2 separate regions of the Homo sapiens genome follow, and region 1 is linked to region 2. The links are contacts of gene promoters, found by promoter capture Hi-C in human tissues and cell types (Jung and others, 2019). All regions are on one chromosome and are shown on one strand. Each heading gives the region's core, a stretch centred on a gene start or on the middle of the fragment in contact. The rest is flanking DNA. Distances are from core to core; before and after follow the strand shown.

Region 1 (5,311 bases), core at 863-3,362, 140 kb before region 2:
GGGCGGGGGGGGGCCTCTTGCCTTCCCTAAGTCCAGGTTTCTCTTTCTTCTGAGAGTCTCATTAGAGGCCCGGGTATTTCTCCAAGTGTGGCCCCTGAACCAGACCCTGGGTGGTCTGTGGAAATGCATGTTCCCAGGCCCCATCCCCGCCCCATCATTCTTAGGTTTGCACAGAGGTCCCTTTCCATGGGATCAGGAGAGTGGCTTTCCAGGAGAGAACTTTCTCTCTGAAAATGCAGCCTCCCCAGCCTCCCTGCATCCTCCTATGTCCACTGTGACCACCATCCTTGCCATCACTTTCTGTGTCATCCCCAAGGGGAGCTCCTGAGGACAAGGCTTTGCTCTGTTTGCTGCTCCAGACCCAAAGGTCACAGCAGGGGAGCTTTGGCCCCAAGTTGAGAATTACCTGGCCCAAAAGACTGCTGAGGTGGGGAAACCCAGCTCTTGCCTCAGCATCTCGCTGCATGAATGAATCAGGGAATCCCTGCAGCAGTGGGACAGGGTGGCACCTCCCTTTGAGACTCTGCAGGCACCAGGGTCAAAAGAGGGCTAGGGTGAGAGGGGGTGAGAAGAGGCCCCCCCAGGCTGTTAGAAATTCCGTGTTGGTGGCCTGCCGAGAAGTAGGTGGCCCTGGACGCACAAGCCATCAGCCTGCTCCTGAAGCTGCTACACTCATGCATGGGCAGGGTGTGCCTGAAGGCCACCAAGGCCCTCACCATGCTGCCAGAGGCCCCTGAGGGCTGCAAGGTCCTGCAGGCCCATATGCACACCTTCCGTGTCCTGGAGGAGGACTCTGACAGCAAGGCTTATGAGGGCGAGGCCTTATAGAAGGTGACCCAGATCGCCATCGATGTCATTGAGTGGAAACCCTGAGCCCCTCATTGGGTCAGACCTGATCAGCCACCTCTGCACCTGAATAAATGCACTCAGTCTCTTTATTTCAAGTGGGAATGGCACTTTCTGCTCGTGGAGCACAGTCACGTCTCTTCTCACTCTCTTGCCAAAGGAGAAATGCCAGGCCCAGAAGCACTGGGTCCTGGATGGTACAGGCCAAACCTAGTGCTGGCGGTGGGTGGGAAGCAGCCTTGGACTTTTTCTCTCTGCTGGGACCAAGAGTTTTCCTCAGAATGTAGAGAGGATTGAGACCTCCAGGGGCAAAGCTGGGGACCCTGCAGCACGCGCTGGCCTGCCCTTTGGGTCAGCACCCTGGTCAGCTCCACAGAAGGGCTTCACCCTGGATGAAGAGATAATCCCTTTTTAGTGAGAGCAGGCTCCCAGCTTTGTGCACTATGACATCATCCCACTAAGCAGCCTCCACGCCAGCATCCCTGGGCTCCCGCCTCTGCAGTCCAGGCTGAGGAGAAATTACAGATGCGGAAACTCATCAGCCAGGGACAGAGGTGCCTCTGTTACAAGGGGAGGGCCAGGAACACAGCCTATGTTGGGACCTAGAAGTCCTGAGCCCCACACCCTTGCCTCCATTCTCCAAGGCCCATTTACCGTTATCAGCTTCTGGGATTTAAGAAACTGCTGTCGGGAGAGGTATGGGAGCCAGCCTGGAAGAGGCAACTGGTCATTCAACTGTAGCCCAGAGGCACAAACTGACACCCCAGACAGCTGAGTTTGGACAAGGGCAGAGGGACAGCCAGTGGCTATAAGCCCACACTATGGAGGGAGGCTGCTGTGTTGAGACCCCCAGCTCTACACTGACTGTTTATCTGTGGAGTCTGGGGCAAGTTGATTAACTGCTCAGTGCCTCAGTTTCACTAGCTCTAAAGTGGGGCGAGTAATTGTGCCTATCATAAATGGGTATGATTTTGGCAGTGCCGGGGGCATCATACTGAAAATAAGTGCCTTGTACATTGTGGGTACCCAGGAAGCCAGTTTACAGCCCCTCAGAGGAGACCCATCAGCAGGCATCTGAGGGAGCCTGGAGCCCTGCATCCTGCAGGTGCCTGGGGTCTTGTGCCCAGGAGAAGCTGCTCCCTCACTCCACAGCAGTCTACAGAGCACCCCCTGACCAGGGGTACACCTGTTTGTGCAGGTGTCAGCAGGGAGCCCTGGGCCTCTCTGGGCTCTGACTTTCCCTGGCAGGACTGTAGAGGGCCCAGAACCCTGCCTTCTCCCAGCCAGGCCCTTCCCTCCCTTCCCCAAACTCACGGCCTCCTCACCGCTCTCTGCCTCAGATTCAGGACTAATCTCACTATGTCCTTCATCCCTGTTTGCATCAGGGGCTGCAAGAAGCTCAGCTCACCTCTCCCTCAAGGCCATGAATACTCCTTTTCTGACCCCATCTGCTGCAACCTTTTCTCCAAGCCCTCTGGAGGCCCTCCCTGGAACATTCTTTCCTTTCTTGCTTGGACTGAAACCTAGCTCTCCCAAGACCTGCTTCCCCTCCCTGGGCATCCTCCTATGTGGGGCTGCTTTCCTCCCTCCCTGCCCCTCATGCCTTCACTGGAGTGGGACAGGTCCTTACGAACCATCTCCTATGCCCGTTCTGAGGAGCCCTCTGGTTCTGAATCCCTGCACAAGCTCTGTTGCCCTGGCCGTCTCTCCTCCCCAGCACCACACCACCAGATTGCTCTTGTAGGGCACGACGTGGTCTCCATGTGGCTGAGCCCAACCGCCAGTCCTCAGGCCTCATGTTTCTTTGGTCATGAGGATTTCCTCACCTCACCACCTCCCCGTCCCTGAAACACTTCCAGGAAATGAGGCCACTTCTCTGCAATTTTGGTTGTTCAGTAATGTGCTATTGTGCTCTTTAAGAAACTGATACACATCTTGGTGTGTTTAAGCCTTTAGGGAAGTGGGAGGATACTGGGGGCTGCTGTGTGAGCACCTCTATGCCATACCAAGTAAGACCAGTGAGGGAAACTGGACCGCTAAGCTGCAGGGCTACCTCCCCCTCCAGGATGCTTTTCACATCTTCCAAGATCCCCTCACTGGAGATCTTCCATGGCCTGGACTCATCTTAGGCCTCCCTGTTCTGTCCATGTGCTACTGGGGTGCCTGCCGATCAGATAATTGGTGATGCTGTCACTGAACTGACTGCCCGCGGGGACTCGTGGTCTTTGGCATTCCAGGCTCCACCACAGTCTCTGCATCCACAGGCAACTGTGGTCCTGGCTGCTCTCTGCTGTTAGGTTTCCCTTCCATTTTTACTTATTGCCTAAAGAACTTCATACAAAACTCTACTTAAAAGCAGTTTATTCCACAGTCCCACATAGAACACATCAACTATTTTAATTTTTTTCTTCTTTCCTATCACTGTCTAAAAGCACTCTTTTTTTTTTTTACATAGTAAGACCCAGTGTGGTTGACTGTATCTAATTTTTAACCTATTATTAGATGGGCAAAATTTTTTTTTTTTTTTTTGAGACAGAGTCTGCTCTGGGTGATTCTCTTTGATTCTCTCTGTTCTCATTCCATCACATGCTCTATGGACGCATAACCCTTCAATTGCACTCATATAACCTGTCAGTAACTTTTCACTCCCTGAGCCAAGAGCTTCTCCTTCCAAGCTTCAGCAAGACCAATTTCTGACCCATGGAGCAATGGGTAACACCAGCCTCACCGAACTCACATGCCCAGTTGTGGAAGCAAATTTCATTTTATGGTAATTCTATTTTGCCAGTACAGGCGGTGTAGCACGTTAGTTTATAGGTTAACCTTTGGCGTTAAAGAGATCCAGCTCTTGGCGTGTCTCCTGAGTAATTTACTTAACTGAGACCCACATTCCCCATCTGTATAATGACTAAAACAAAACTAATTCTGTCTCAAAGTGATTGTGACACTTCAAGGAGACAACATACAGAAGTGCCCACATACCCAATTTATGGCTGTTCTTATTTTCATTCATTTTTTTTTTTTTTTTGAGATGGAATCTCGTTCTATCACCCAGGTTGGAGTGCAGTGGGCATGATCTCGGCTCACTGCAAACTCCGCCTCCCAGGTTCACGCCATTCTCCTGCCTCAGCCTCCCAAGTAGCTGGGACTACAAGCGCCCACCACCACACCCAGCTAATGTTTTGTATTTTTAGTAGAGACGGGGTTTCACTGTGTGAGCCAGGATGGTCTCGATTTCCTGACCTCGTAATCCGCCCACCTTGCACCTGCTTATTAACTACAGCCATATGTAGCAGAATGACATTTTGGTCAATGACAGAACACATGTATGACAGTGGTCCCATAAGATTATAACAAAGCTGAAAATTTCCTTTTCCCCAGTAAAGTCGTACCTGTTAGAAGGTCGGCGCAGTGCATTACTTACGTGTCTGTGGTGAGGCGGGTGTAAACAAACCTACTGCGCTGCGTCATTACAGTAAAACAACACTTCTTTTTGGAGAACATTTTAAGTAATATGTTATACAAATGACAGACTAACCACAGTGATGGAATTTTTAGAAAGAGATAAAACTAAGAGTCCGTGAGGATTTGGAGAAACGGCTACTCACATATGCTGTTAGAGGAGCATGAATTGGTGTCATCATTTTGGAAAAAGTTTGGCATTATTTATAACAATGAAAGATATGCCCCCTTCTAACAGTCTACTCCACAAAAGTGAGTGCTGGTGTTATTCCAAAACCACTGACAAAAATACTCAAAGCACCATTACTTGAGATAGCCACAATTACATTAAAAATAACCCTGGCCAGGCATGGTGATACATGCCTATAATCCAAGCACTTTGGGAGGCTGAGGCGGGCAGATCGCCTGAGCTGAGGAGTTCCTGACTAGCCTGGCCAACATGGTGAAACCCTGTCTCCACCAAAAATACAAAAAATTAGCCAGGCATGGTGGTGGACACCTGTAGTCCCCACTACTCGGGAGGCTGAGGCACGAGAATGGCGTGAACCCGGGAGGCGGAGCTTGCAGTGAGCCGAGATCGCACCACTGCACTCCAGCCTGGGTGACAGAGCGAGACTCCATCTCAAAAAAAAAAAAAAAGAAAAAAAAAAGTCTAGAACTTAAGTGATGAATAGCAACTTAGAGAACAAAACCAAAGCCAAATTTTTGAAGACAGGAAATAGTGTGATACTATCTTTTGTGGGAAGGAACTTTTGGCTTCCCAAAAAATTAGAGAACTGGGAGAAAGAAGCCACATCTCAGAATCTGTGATTGGGTTGGGCAGTGGAGGCTGGAAAAGTGCTCAAGGTCAAACTTTTCTCCTCCCCTCAAAGGAGACTGGAGTTTTACCAGTGACCCCAGAGTGAATATTCACTCCACCATCCACTCCGGGAGATCCCTTTAAACCAGGAGTGCACAGTGAGGACAGAAACATGAATGTGCACTAACAAGTCCTGAAAGTTCA
Region 2 (4,561 bases), core at 1,612-4,111:
TTTTTTTGAGACAGGGTCTCACTCTGTCACCCAGGCTGGAGTGCAGGAGTAGAATCACAGCTCACTGCAGCCTTGACCTCCCCGGCTCAACTGATCCTCCAACCTCAGCCTCTCAAGTAGCTGGGACTACAGGGGCATATCAACACATCCAGCTAATTTTTTAATTTTTCTGTAGAGATGAGATAATATTATGTTGCCCAGGCTGGTCTTGAACTCCTGGGCTCAAGCAGTCCTCCCACCTCTGCCTCCCAAAGTGCTGGATTACAGGCATGAGCCACCATGCCCAGCAGAAATGATTTTTTTTTTTTTTTGAGGTGGAGTCTCACTCTTGTTGCCCAGCCAGGAGTGCAATGGCCCAATCTCGGCTCACTGCAACCTCTGCCTCCTGGGTTCAAGCAATTCTCCTGCCTCACCCTCCTGAATAGCTGGGATTACAGGCACCCGCCACCAGGCCCGGATAATTTTTGTATTTTTAGTAGAGATGGGGTTTCACTATGTTGGCCAGGCTGGTCTCGAACTCCTGACCTCAGGTGATCCGCCCACCTTGGCATCCCAAAGTGCTGGGATTACAGGTGTGAGCCACCACGCCCAGCCCAGAAATGATTTTTTTAAATGATTTTTCAGCCAATAGACCGACTGGATATAAAAAAAAAAGAGCACTGAACTAAAGTATTTTCTTTTTCCAGAATGGAGTGCAGTAGTGTGATTACAGCTCACTGGAACCTCTGGCTCCTGGGTTCAAGTGATTCTCCTATCTCAGCCTCTTAAGTAGCTAGGACACCATCCTGGCTAACACGGTGAAACCCTGTCTCTATTAAAAATACAAAAAAGGCCGGACGCGGTGGCTCACGCCTCTAATCCCAGCACTTTGGGAGGCCGAGGTGGGTGGATCATGAGGTCAGGAGTTCAAGACCAGCCTGGCCAAGATGGTGAAACCCCGTCTCTACTAAAATTACAAAAATTACAGCGCGTCTGTAATCCCAGCTACTCCGGGAGGCTGAGGCAGGAGAATCGCTTGAACCTGGGGGGCGGAGGTTGCAGTGAGCCGAGATCGCGCCACTGCACTCTAGCCTGGGTAACAGAGCGAGACTCCATCTCAAAAAAAAAAAAAAAAAAAAAAAAAAAAAAAAAGCCGGCCGTGGTGGCAGGTGCCTGTAGTCCCAGCTACTTGGGAGGCTGAGGCAGGAGAATGGCGTGAACCCAGGAGGCGGAGCTTGCAGTGAGCCGAGATCGCGCCACTGCACTCCAGGCTGGGCGACAGGACGAGACTCCGTCTCAAAAAAAAAAAAAAAAAAAAAAAAAAAGTAGCTGGGAATACAGGCTCTACAGGCACGTGCCACACCTGGCTAATTTTTGTATTTTTTGTAGAGATGGGTTTTCGCCATGTTGTGCAGACTGGTCTCGAATTTCTGAGCTCATGCGATCCACCCATTTTGGCCTCCGAAAGTGCTGGTATTATAGGCGTGAGCCCCCTCGCCCAGCCCTAAAGTATTTTCAAAAATTCTTTGATCACTTCAACTCCTCTCACCCTCCCCCTCCTCTTCAGCAACCCATAATCTCCAACTCTTCCAGCTCTCTCACTCAATTTGTGCTTTTCGACCTCATGAAATCCAAGCCATTTTTACTGTAGTTCTCCTTTTCTAGCTCCACCCCTTCTCCATCCAGCTTAGACTCTCCATACTATGCGCATCACTTCAACTCTCACGCTCTAGCACCATGCTCCTCACCTCCTCGTCCGGCTGCAACTAGCCGCTAAGTCCCAGTCTTCTCGGCCAGTTCCTCCTAAGTTGTTAAATGTTGCCAAGAAAAATCATACAACTATGTATGGCACCACGACAAATTTCGAGTTTCCGATTTCAGCTGGGACCTCAGCTCTGGCATTCTATGACCTCCTTATTGCCAATCCCTCTCTTCTCGGTCTTCACCTTCCCACCCCATCTGGCACTGCTCTCCAATACCTCCTTCTCAAAACCCTTCATTTCAGAGGTTGCAAATTGGCAGCCTGAAGATCCTGCTATGTTATGTTTGGCTCTCGAAGAGTTTGGCTTTTCCTGTTCATTTTCCTTAGTTACCAATATTTAAAACTCAGTAGGTTTCTGGCTTTCTCTTGAAAAACGAAGATGTGACAATATCCCTTCACCCGCCCACATTGCCTACCTAGGTGCATGAAAGCTTTGAGCTACCCCCCAACCCCATCCCCACCCTCGCTTTCTTCCCAATTTTCATGGCTTCCAAGTTCTCTTTCTTGATATCTTTAGATTGCAACTCTTCCTCCGCCCACCCATTAAGTCCTGGTGTTCTCAAACTTCCCTCCGTAGAGGTTTTCCATTCCCACTATATAGCCCCTACACCCTGAAGTCTCCACTCAGAAAAAAGTTGGCAACCCTTTATCTGTCTCCCACAACATGATAAGTGTTTTTGGACCGAAAATGCAAAGATCTGGAACTCCATGCTTCCCACCTCTGTCGGGGCCTTCTCCGGGTCCTCCTGCATCTGTCATCCCATCCTCCAGAGAGTCCCTAGGGCCTGGGCACCCTGCAAACTCTTAGTGCAGTCAAGGTTTCCTGGCTGGGGGCCCAAGAGTTGCCACGGACCCGCACACGCTGCCCAGGCGGCGACGTGGCGCCCCTACAGGCTTCCCCGCGATTGGGGACACGCACACCCAGGGCCACCGGAGGGACAGGTGGTCAGGCGGACTCAGGTCACACCGGCGGACGCGGGGCCACTCACCTGGGCCGGGGCGGGGCAGCTCACCTGGGCCGGGGCGGGGCCGCAGGCGGGCGGGGCGGGGCCGCACCTGAGCTGCTCCAACCCGCGGCCGACGCGGCCGACGCTGCCTGGCTCCACAGCAGCTGCTGACGCGGAGCCCGCGGCCGCCCGAGCACCCAGAGCCCCGCCCCCGGCCCGCGGGCACTTCCGGGACCACTCTAGGCCGCGCGGAGGTCCCGGCGTCTCGGTGGTCCCACCGCGCCGGTTGTCGCCGCGCGAAGCCGCCCGGGCCCCGGGACACAAGGACCCGAATCAGGAGAGTCTCTCCAGTCGGCATGGTGGCTCTGGCCGTCCCCGAAGCGCGTGCTGGACGTGGGGGAAACAGAGATGGGCAGGCGTTGGCAGGAGAGCAGAGGAGGAAACAGGTCCGGACGGGCGGGCCGACCTCGAGCCGCCGGCACTCGGGGCATCTGCGCTGGTGCTGGGTGCAAGCCAGAAGCCACTGAGGCAGCTGGGGTCTTCAGGGAAAGGAGAGTGGAGCCCCAGAGCTGTCGACCCTGTCACTGTCCACAGGCACCGGGGTCCTGTTAGGATCCCCCTCCCCCAACCTGCTTCAAGGGTAGCCCTGTTCCTGTCTGCCCTCCCCGCCCCCACAGAAATAGAGATGAGAAGGGGCAGGCGAAGAACTAGGAGTGTCTGCGAGACCATCCCAGGACCCTGAGCCCCCCAACTCTCTGCATCCCAGGGCTGACTTCGACATGAAGCGCCTCCTCTCAGGCGCACCGGGAGGGAAGAGGAATGTGTTCTTGAAATGGCCGCCCCCTTGGCCGGGCGCGGTGGCTCACGCCTTTAATCCCAGCATTTTGGGAGGCGGAGGCGGGTGGATCACGAGGTCAGGAGTTCGAGACTCAGCCAGACCAACATGGTGAAACCCTGTTTCTACTAAAAATTATCCGGGAGTGGTGACAAGCGCCTGTAATCCCAGCTACTGAGACAGGAGAATCGTTTGACCCTGAGAGGCGGAGGTTGCAGTGAGCCAAGATAGTGCCATTGCACTCCAGCCTGGGCGACAGAGCGAGACTCCATCTCAAAAAACAAAAAAAAAAAAAAGAAAAGGAATCTCCGCCCCCTCCTTGCTGCTGATGGCAAGACTGGCCCCTCCACCCAGTGTTCTGCCCATGACACCCCCCCCTCAGGTGCAGCTGCCCAGCTTGTGGGAGAGCTTCCCTCCGCAGACCTTGGCCCAATCACAGGACATCAGGAGAACACACTGTCCCTGGGAAAAAGGATTCTGCCCCAGCCGCCCACCTGCCTTCAGCACCCTCAGCCTTGGCGCTCGAGTGCCTCCAATGCTACCCACACACACCTGCCTTCCTGCCCCATTAATGCTCTGTCGGGCCTTGGGCACAGACTCCAAGGGGTAGGCAGTGGCTGCCCCTCCCCAAGCCAACAGCCTGAGCTCCATGGGGACCAGCCACCCTAGAGCCATAACCCTTGGACCATAACCAGCCATGCAGAGTTGGGGGCGGCAAGGGCTGGTTCCTTTTTCTCCCTCCGGCTCCTCAGGTCACAGGAAGGTCAGGCTACCAGTTTGAGCCCCCAGGGGGCCATGGTGGGGGAGTCTGGGCCATGCCCCAATAGTCTCAGGTGCTTCCTCTTTGACAACAGTCCCCAGAATCCCCATTCCCCCGCACACTGCTCCCCACCCCAGGAGTGGGTCTTCGACTCCCAGACCCACCACAGTCATTTTTCTCAGCCAGGATCTTATGACCCTCACAATAGCTGTTGTTGACATGTTGAATATTATTAACCCATTTTACAGAGGGGAAGCAAGGCTCAGAGAAAGTTTAAA

What was found. Contacts are between HindIII fragments. The study calls those that stand out against the background at their distance.
Region 1: a fragment that was not itself captured here is called in contact with the fragment with the promoter of ZNF70 in region 2 in 1 of the 25 tissues and cell types used here (lymphoblastoid cells).

What each region holds. Positions count from the first base shown.
Region 1 is chr22:23,607,535-23,612,845 of GRCh38, forward strand. It overlaps DRICH1 (aspartate rich 1), which reads right to left. Exons shown (of 12, transcript NM_016449.4): 12 at 918-1,234. The coding sequence ends at 1,230. Among named protein-coding and RNA genes, the nearest start is that of DRICH1, 22 kb to the right of the region's middle. The HindIII fragment of the contact is 7,781 bases long and covers 1-5,311 here.
Region 2 is chr22:23,748,251-23,752,811 of GRCh38, forward strand. ZNF70 (zinc finger protein 70) reads right to left here and starts at 2,862. Exons shown (of 2, transcript NM_021916.4): 1 at 2,461-2,862. It overlaps VPREB3 (V-set pre-B cell surrogate light chain 3), which reads right to left. Exons shown (of 2, transcript NM_013378.3): 2 at 4,493-4,561. RefSeq lists a silencer at 2,578-3,027 and enhancers at 2,620-3,295, 3,178-3,237, 4,078-4,137. The HindIII fragment of the contact is 11,413 bases long and covers 1-4,561 here.